Linked DNA regions of Homo sapiens: regions 2 and 3 are each linked to region 1. The links are contacts of gene promoters, found by promoter capture Hi-C in blood cells and fetal thymus (Javierre and others, 2016). All regions are on one chromosome and are shown on one strand. Each heading gives the region's core, a stretch centred on a gene start or on the middle of the fragment in contact. The rest is flanking DNA. Distances are from core to core; before and after follow the strand shown. Region 1 holds the start of PEX39 (peroxisomal biogenesis factor 39). Region 2 overlaps UBR2 (ubiquitin protein ligase E3 component n-recognin 2). Region 3 overlaps PTK7 (protein tyrosine kinase 7 (inactive)).

Region 1 (2,900 bases), core at 388-2,887:
TAATCTCAACACTTCAGGAGGCTGAGGCAGGCAGATCACTTGAGGTCAGGAGTTCGAGACCAGCCTGACCAACATGGAGAAATTCTGTCCCTACTGAAAATACAAAATTAGCCGGATGTGGTGGTGCATGCCTGTAATCCCAGCTACTTGGGAGGCTGAGGCAAGAGAATTGCTTGAACCCAGGGAGGCAGAGGTTGCAGTGAGCCGAGATCACACCATTGCACTCCACCTTGGGCAACAAAAGCAAAACTCTGTCTCAAAAAAAAAAAAAAAAAAAGTGCCAGCGTATGAGGTAATTAGATTGGTTCTCTCCAGAGGTAACCTGCCAAGAAGAGATGCTATAGATGTTACTCCTATACTGTAAAACATTGTGAAATCAGATTACTTTAAAATGATGTATTACAAAGTTATGCAAAAAAGCAGTTGTGACTATGGAAGCCCAAGGCTTATATCCCAGCTCTGTCTTACACTAAATATGGGTACAGTGTTTCCACTCTGTCCATAAAATGGGAGCTAATATTCTCCAACCTGTGTGCCTGACATGATGGTTAAAGGGATTAAACAAAACAATAGTTTGTAATTTATTCTGTCAGAGCAAACTGCTGGTAAATAAAAGGGACTAAGTTGACGAAAAATAAATTTTAAAAAACCTAATAAAACAAGTTTGTAATTTATAATTGTATACAAATAAAAGATGTTACAAAAATTGCGCACTTATATGTATGTACCATGACATAACTAATTCGTTGAACAAGTTGTGAGACAATCCTTTCTGAGAAAAGGTAGACCTGTTACATCGTCTGTGGGTTAGGGTCATGTCAGCACGTACCAGGTACATTCTAGCTTTTGTAGAGAAAGTAAAATCTAGTGTTGAGTATGTAGGCACTGAGCCAGGTGGCCTGCTTAACATAAAAGGACTGATTTCAGGGTGGCTGTGGGAGCCTTTCTAATGCTCTAATTCTCTAGCCCCTTGCCTGATCCAGCTGATTCCAAGAGCCAAGATTTTAGTCTTTCTTGGTTGGCTTTTTTAAATGCTTTGGGCTTTCCTTTAATGTATCTTCAAAATCATTCTGGGGCCAAGTTACATCATAAAACATTTTATTACATATAAGGACTGAAACAGGATTTTTCTTAACTGTAACATGGTCCACAAATGTAAATGCAAAACCCCCATGGTGGTTGCAGGAGCAAGTCTAGTTGAGACAGGTCAGGACGAAAGCATAAAAGATGAGTAACTGAATGGCATCCCGGGTCCTGTAGCCACGCCCTCCAGATCGCCGCCGCAAAGGACCTGGAACCTCAGGGGCCCACTGTATGCCATGAAGAAGGCGCAGTCGCTGCCTCAACCAAGCCAGGCTCCGCCGGGGCCGTTCCTATCCTGAGGGTCGGAGGGGGAAGGGACTCAGCCAAAGCCGCGGCCTCCCAGGGCTTGGGCCTCCGCGGCAGCCGGGACGCTGTGGGTTCGCCGTGGATCGCCGCGATGTGGCGTTTCTCCAGGCCCGGGAGTTCCTGGCCCTGCTGGACCAGCTGCAGGAGCTGCGCCAGGGTAACCGAAGCTGAGGCAGAGGCCGGGGCCGAGCATTGGGGACTGCGGGGACGCTCCATGTCGGGTCGCGAATCCTGACCGGCGTGTAATGCAGAGAAGCGAGCACTTCCGGGCCGAATGGGTGCAACCACCATGGGGGAGGTGGGGAAAGGAAAGGGAGGCTGTAGACCGTACCAAGCCGGCCCAGAACTGGGGGAGCACTTGACAACTCTGACCAGCTCCCTGCAGAAACGCTTTAGAAGCGTCCACGATTTAGCCAAACCCAGAGTGCCCAACGGACGCGCCAAAGAAGAAAAACGGACGGACGTGCCAAAACTTGAAGGCTAGCACAGGACAGAACAAGCCTGCGGACGCGCCGCTGCGGGCAAAAAGACCCATACATACATAAGCACCGCGCACATGCCCATTTTCATGCACACCCCCGGGCGCGCGTACAAGGATTCAGATACAACGCATGGCGGGGGATAATCCCCATACTAGGCTCCGCAGCACGGGACAAAGCATAACTGTAGAGTTGTTCCCAGAGGCCTCAGGAGTGACACCGCCACCAAGCCACGCTACTCTCTTAGTTGTTATTATTGTTTTGTGTTGTTTTAGACGGAGTCTCACTCTGTTGCCCAGGCCGGAGTGCAGCGATGCGATCTCAGCGCACTGCAACCTCCGCCTCCTGGTTCAAGCGATCCACAGGGTCCCTAGTGCCTCAGCCTCCCTAGTAGCTGGTGTATGCCACCAAGCCCAGCTAATTTTTGTATTTTTAGTAGAAACAGGGTTTCACCATGTTGGCTAGGCTAGTCTCGAACTCCTGACCTTAAGTGATGCACCCGCCTCAGCTTTCCAAAGTGCGGGGATTACAGGTGTGAGCCACCGCACCCAGCCAGAGCCTCACCACTTTCTTCACACTTCCTGCCATCCTTCAATTCTTGGTGGTCCCAGAGAAGATCGAAGGTGAAAGCAGGTCAGATGTGCTACAGCTGCTCTGACTGCTCGGAAAGTCAGGTTTTTAAATTATCAAAAGTGGCCGGGCACGGTGGCTCACACTTGTAATCCCAGCACTTTGGGAGGTGGAGGCAGGTGGATCTCAAGGTCAGGAGTTTGAGACCAGCCTGACCAACATGGGGCAACCCCCGTCTCTACTAAAAATACAAAAATTAGCTGGGTGTGGTGGCATGCACCTGTAATCCCAGCTACTCAGGAGGCTGAGGCAGGAGAATCGCTTGAACCTGGGAGGCAGAAGTTGCAGTGAGCTGAGATTGCAGCACTGCACTCTACCCTCGGTGACACAGCAAAACTCTGTCTCAAAAAAAAAAAAAAAAAGTATCAAAAGCTAGACTGATCTGGTGAACATCACCTTAAT
Region 2 (2,778 bases), core at 213-2,712, 240 kb before region 1:
TCTTTGGGGGGGCGGGTTGTTGGTTTTATTGGGTTTTTTTAGTTTTTACATAATATACTTTGTCAGTACATATAGGCATACTTCATCCTTTTTCACTTCAGCCTGGGTAACAAAGCGAGACTCAAGTGCAGTGGCACGGTCTTGGCTCACTGCAACCTCCGCCTCCTAGGTCCAAGCAATTCTCCTGCCTCAGCCTCCCAAGTAGCTGGGATTACAGGCGCCCGCCACCACACCTGGCTAATTTTTGTATTTTTAGTAGACATGGGGTTTCACCATGTTGACCAGGCTGGTCTCAAACTCCTAACTTCAGATGATCCAGCCCGCCTCGGCCTCTCAAAGTGCTGAGATTACTGGCATGAGCTATGGTGCCAGGCCCTTTTTCACTTCCTTGTAGTCATGTACTGTAATGTATCTAACCTCTTCCCTATAATACATAGCTTCCAGATTTTCTCTTATAAACAAATATTGAAAATCCTTGTACATACAGCATTAACAAATGTATCTTTGACTGTGAAAGTGTTTCTTTGAGGATTAGCTAGATCAAAATGAAAGCTTGTATTACATTTTGGTACATACCTCCTAATTGCCTTCCCAAAAAAGTCCTCGATTTACACTCTGACTAGAAGTGTATAAAGAGTGCCCTGCAACTTTGTCAACACTTTAATATGAGCAGTCTTTTAGTACCTTATTTTAATTTGCGTTACTCTAAGTGAAGTTGAGCTTCTTTTCATGTGTTTATTGGCCGTTTATTTTTTCATACTTTAATGCATTTTTCTTTATGGTTGTTTGTCCCTATCTTATTGTTCCGAAAGTATTATATATTAGAAATGTCAATTCTTATTTAATACATCACAGTACTTTCTTCCAGTCTCCCTTGTTTTTTAACTTTCTGTTTTTAAAACTCTGTCTCAATTGGCTTCTGGGTTTTATAACTTGCTTAGGAAAGTTCTCTAAACCCCAATAGTGTACCTGCTTTTTTCTGCTTAATAGAACAACACGGAAGTCTTTACATGTGAAAATAGAGAAATTATCACTGTTAATGGTGTTCAGTTGTTTGGAGATGTTGTAATTTGTTATTTCACGTTATTAGACTTTTTAATTGTTGCCACTGCAGTGTCCATCACGTTCACTTGTCTAGTTAGGATAAATTCCAAGTGGGCATGCTAAATAAAACAGATGCATGTAGAACTCGGATTTAGACTGCCAAATCAACCCACTGAAAATAGTTGTAGCTTAACACCCACCAGCAGTATATGAGAGCTCTGCTTTCTTGTTCTAATATCCAAGACTATCTCTCATAAATTAGTGTATGGCTTTGGTAATAATATTCTAAGGTCCTTTCTTTCACAGGAAACCTGGATTAACAGGACGAGGCATGTATGAACTGAAACCAGAATGTGCCAAAGAGTTCAACTTGTATTTCTATCACTTTTCAAGGGCAGAACAGTCCAAGGTAATTGGGAAAATTAAAAATGTAGCAGGGAAGGATTGCATTGTTTTTCTTAAGAGATGAGGTTTCACCATGTTGCCCAGGCTAGAGTTTGGTGGCTATTCACAATGCCATTATAGAGCATTGCAACCTCAAACTCCTGGGCTCAAGCAATTCTCCCACCTCAGCCTCTTGAGTAGATGAGATTACAGGCATGCACCACTGTATCTGGCTTGAATTTTTTTTTCCTAAACAACTTTTTTACTGCTTTTGCAGATTGAAAAATGATACATTTTTATTGTAGGGGATTTGGAAAATATAAAATATAAAGAAGAAAGTAGAAATTACTTAAAATACCCTCACCTAACATTTTGGAGTTACCCCCTAGCGTTTTGTACATATGTATATACGATCTATATAATACATACCTTTACGTATATGGGTATAGTTTTTTAAAACAAATTTTCAACCTGTATTATAATCAGTTAATCCATTTTATGCACATTTCAGAATTGGTATTATTTAACACTTTTTCATAGAGATTCATGGAGCTTTTCTAATCATTCCTAGGTAATTAAATTTTGCCTTTTTGGTGGGGCATGTAATCCCAGCACTTTGGGAGGCTGAGGCGGGCAGATCGCTTGAGCTCAGGAGTTCGAGATCAGCCTGGCCAACATGTTGAAATCCCATGTCTACTAAAAATACAAAAATTAGCCAGGCATGGTGTCATGCACTTCTCGTCCCAGCTACTCAGGAGGCTGAGATAGGAGGATCACTTGAGCCCAGGAGGTCAAGACTGCAGTGAGCTATGATTGCACCACTGCATTCCAGCTTGGATGATGGGAGTGAGACCGTATCTCAAAAAAAAAAAAAAAATCTGCCTTTTAGCAGTCTCCTCTTAAAATGGTTTTTCAATAAACAGCATTAAATAAAACTTAAACATAAAGCTTTTATTTAGTTTTTGATGAAGTCATAGAGTTCAAACTTAAATAAGTTTGTACTTATTTAAGTACATGTTTCCCTTCTAATTTAAAGTAATAGAGAACTCGTTTGGAGATTCTTTTAGTTAAAAAAAAAAATTAACCTTGATGTATCCGTTTGGGGGAGGACTAGAACTTAAAGATAGATATCTTTTTTATTTTTTATTTTTTTTGAGATAGGGTCTCACTCTGTTACCCAGGCTGGAGTGCAGACCTCGGCTCACTAGAGCCCCTGCCTCCCAGGTTCAAGCAATTATCCTGCCCCAGCCTTCTGAGTAGCTAGGATTACAGGTGTGTGCCACCACGCCCAGCCAATTTTTGTATTTTTAGTAGAGATGGGGATTCTCCGCGTTGGCCAGGCTGCTCTCG
Region 3 (2,700 bases), core at 187-2,686, 260 kb after region 1:
GGGAGAGGCTAGGCCCCTCCCCCAGGTCAGGAGCTGCCTCGGCCTGGGTGAAGGTGGCTGGCTGACTCAGACTGTACCCACAGGGAAGAGTGAGTTTGGGGAGGTGTTCCTGGCAAAGGCTCAGGGCTTGGAGGAGGGAGTGGCAGAGACCCTGGTACTTGTGAAGAGCCTGCAGAGCAAGGATGAGCAGCAGCAGCTGGACTTCCGGAGGGAGTTGGAGATGTTTGGGAAGCTGAACCACGCCAACGTGGTGCGGCTCCTGGGGCTGTGCCGGGAGGCTGAGCCCCACTACATGGTGCTGGAATATGTGGATCTGGTATGCTGTTGGCAGGGGACGTGGGGGTCTCGGGTAGGGAGGGCAGTGTCCTACAAAGGTGGGAGTCAGTGGTTGGAGCACCGTGAAAACCTTGTCTCGTGCAGTCTCAGCCGAGACCTCACCTGCCTGCTGTTACACTTTGCCCACCTTATGATGCTCAGCTTCTGCCTTCCCTGCTCTTGGATGCCTGCTTTCCCTTTATCAGCACCCAGTCTTTCCATCTGTATCTCAGGGGCGTTGGTCCTAAGTTTTTCTGGGACTTCTCACTGTCACACTGCAGGGATGCCTTCCAGGTCATCTTCTCTGACTCTTGTTTTCTTTGGTTTGTTATTTTTTCCTCCCCAAAAGCTTGTCCCCACTTGAGAATAAATATATCAGAACCCACTTTGCCTCCCTCCTTCCTAGCACCACTTGTGACATGAGTGTTACCCCAGCCACCAGCCTTCTCCTCTCCACTCAGGGTGTCATTCCCAGAGCTGCGCCTTCCTCTTCATTCCCCAGCTGGTCCTTGCCCTCACCCCATGGTCCTCAAACTGCTGCTTCTCAAATCCCTAGTTCTGGGGCAAGAGCGGGCAGGAGTCCTATCAGTCTTTCCATTAACAAGTACTTACGCGGCTGGGCACAGTGGCTCACACTTGTAATCCCAGCACTTTGGGAGACTGAGGCAGGAGGATCGCCTGAGGCCAGGAGTCCGAGACCAGCCTGGGCAACATAGCAAGACTCTGTCTCTACAAAAAAATTAAAAACAAACAAACAAGTACTTATGAATGCTTTATGTATGTTTCTGCTGCTGGCGTTCTCCTTTGTTTGTTTAGATTAGATTGTAAAGCTCTGGAGGACAGGGGTTTCCTCTCAGGAATCTTTGAGGGCAGAGGGTAGGGGACTGTTTTCCTCTTGGCTCACTGAAGATGGGGGCTCTGTTGCCCCACCTGTCTGGAGGTTCCCCTTGGGGTAGAAATGCCAATTCTCCTCCTTTCTAACTGAGACAGCCTCTAGGAGGCGTCTCCTATATATTTTTAAAGTTCTGCACTCCCAGTGAACTTCCCCCTGGGAAAGGGGCCCAGGCTAGCTTAGGCCTTCTCACTGCCTCCCCAGGCAGGAATTCTGCGAGCACCTGCTTGGTCTGAGGCTTTACAGCCAATGGCTGTGCACTGACCTGAGCGAGATGCCTGGCTTTTCCCTTAGGGAGACCTCAAGCAGTTCCTGAGGATTTCCAAGAGCAAGGATGAAAAATTGAAGTCACAGCCCCTCAGCACCAAGCAGAAGGTGAGGACAGGGAGTGAAGGAGGGAGGGAGAGGGTGCCCAGGGGTGGGCCAGGAGCAACAGAGGCACCATTTATTGAGGGCTCTCTATGGGCCAGGCCCTATGGTAAGAACTTCACATGTGTTACTGTAATTATCACGGTAGTCGTCTGAAATATATACTACTATCCCCATTTTGTGGATGAAGACATTGAGGCTTAGGAGGTTGTCTGACCTGTCCCAGGTCATGTAGCCTGGAAGTGGCTTTGCATTGCCATGCTGGCTTCACGGAGAAGAGCTACCCTCGGACCTTGCCTCTGGGCAGGAGCTTGCATTGGAGCAGGACGCCTGCCCACCTGCAATGAGCTCTGAGCTGGAGAAGCAGCAAGCAGTCCTAGTGCAGGGGCCTGCTGGGCTAGCTGTGGGCCTGAGCGTGTTTCTTCAGCTCTGAGTGGAGAAGACTCTTCTGTGAATGGGCTGCCTGGGTTTCCCCCTCTGTGGTTTGCATCTTGTCCTCTCCCTTGGGCTGTAGCTGCCCAGCCTTTCATTCCAGTTTTCCTCCTGCCTTTTGCGCAGAGGTTGTTCTGGGCACAGAGCCCTGGCTGGGGCCCCTGTGGTAGAGCAGACCTTGGTTGAAACAGTGAAGAAGGGAAAGCTTGCCTGCTACCCCCTGCCACCTCAGTCCATACCTTTCCAGTGCCTGGGGCTTGCTGTGGCCCGGCCCCTTCTTCCTTCCCTCAGGTTCTTCTTGCCCACAGCTGCCTCCTCTCCCCTCTGAAATGGATCTACTTCCTTCCATGTGACTGGAGAGTCTGCTTCCAAGCTGGCAGTGAAGTGACCTCATAAACCAAATCAGAGCTCAGGGCAGGGTAGGCAGAAGGCTCTGCCCTTTCTCCCAGGGGACCATTCCTTGCCTGCTAGGCTGTCCCAGGTCACAGACTCTGGAGGCAGAGCAGAAAGGCATGGCTGGCAGATGAATCAGGTGAATGGGACCCTGGCTGCCCCCAATCTCTCTGGGGAAGCAGCTCTGTGCCCTTCAGGCTGGCCCCCTCTTATTACATGTGAATTTACTAAGACCCAGACAGGACAAGTGACCTGGCCACCTGACACCACACCCCTACCTCCTTCCCCATGAAACTGCA

Evidence for each region. The method cuts DNA at HindIII sites, captures the fragments that hold promoters and counts their contacts. A CHiCAGO score of 5 or more calls a contact.
Region 2: a fragment that was not itself captured here is called in contact with the fragment with the promoter of PEX39 in region 1 in 10 of 17 cell types (naive CD8 T cells, naive CD4 T cells, total CD4 T cells and 7 more); the score reaches 8.9 in naive CD8 T cells.
Region 3: a contact is called between a fragment that was not itself captured here and the fragment with the promoter of PEX39 in region 1, in 2 of 17 cell types (naive CD8 T cells and total CD4 T cells). The highest score is 7.6, in naive CD8 T cells.

Annotation. Positions count from the first base shown.
Region 1 is chr6:42,889,184-42,892,083 of GRCh38, forward strand. PEX39 (peroxisomal biogenesis factor 39) reads right to left here and starts at 1,638. Exons shown (of 1, transcript NM_001008739.2): 1 at 1,082-1,638. The coding sequence starts at 1,605. The coding sequence ends at 1,300. It overlaps RPL7L1 (ribosomal protein L7 like 1), which reads left to right. Exons shown (of 6, transcript NM_001366481.3): 6 at 1-717. RefSeq lists enhancers at 1,130-1,979, 2,040-2,089. The HindIII fragment of the contact is 5,960 bases long and covers 1-2,900 here.
Region 2 is chr6:42,648,934-42,651,711 of GRCh38, forward strand. UBR2 (ubiquitin protein ligase E3 component n-recognin 2) reads left to right here. Exons shown (of 47, transcript NM_001363705.2): 23 at 1,351-1,453. Among named protein-coding and RNA genes, the nearest start is that of PRPH2, 72 kb to the right of the region's middle. The HindIII fragment of the contact is 1,824 bases long and covers 551-2,374 here.
Region 3 is chr6:43,145,117-43,147,816 of GRCh38, forward strand. It overlaps PTK7 (protein tyrosine kinase 7 (inactive)), which reads left to right. Exons shown (of 20, transcript NM_002821.5): 16 at 84-316; 17 at 1,502-1,582. Among named protein-coding and RNA genes, the nearest start is that of SRF, 25 kb to the right of the region's middle. The HindIII fragment of the contact is 1,549 bases long and covers 663-2,211 here.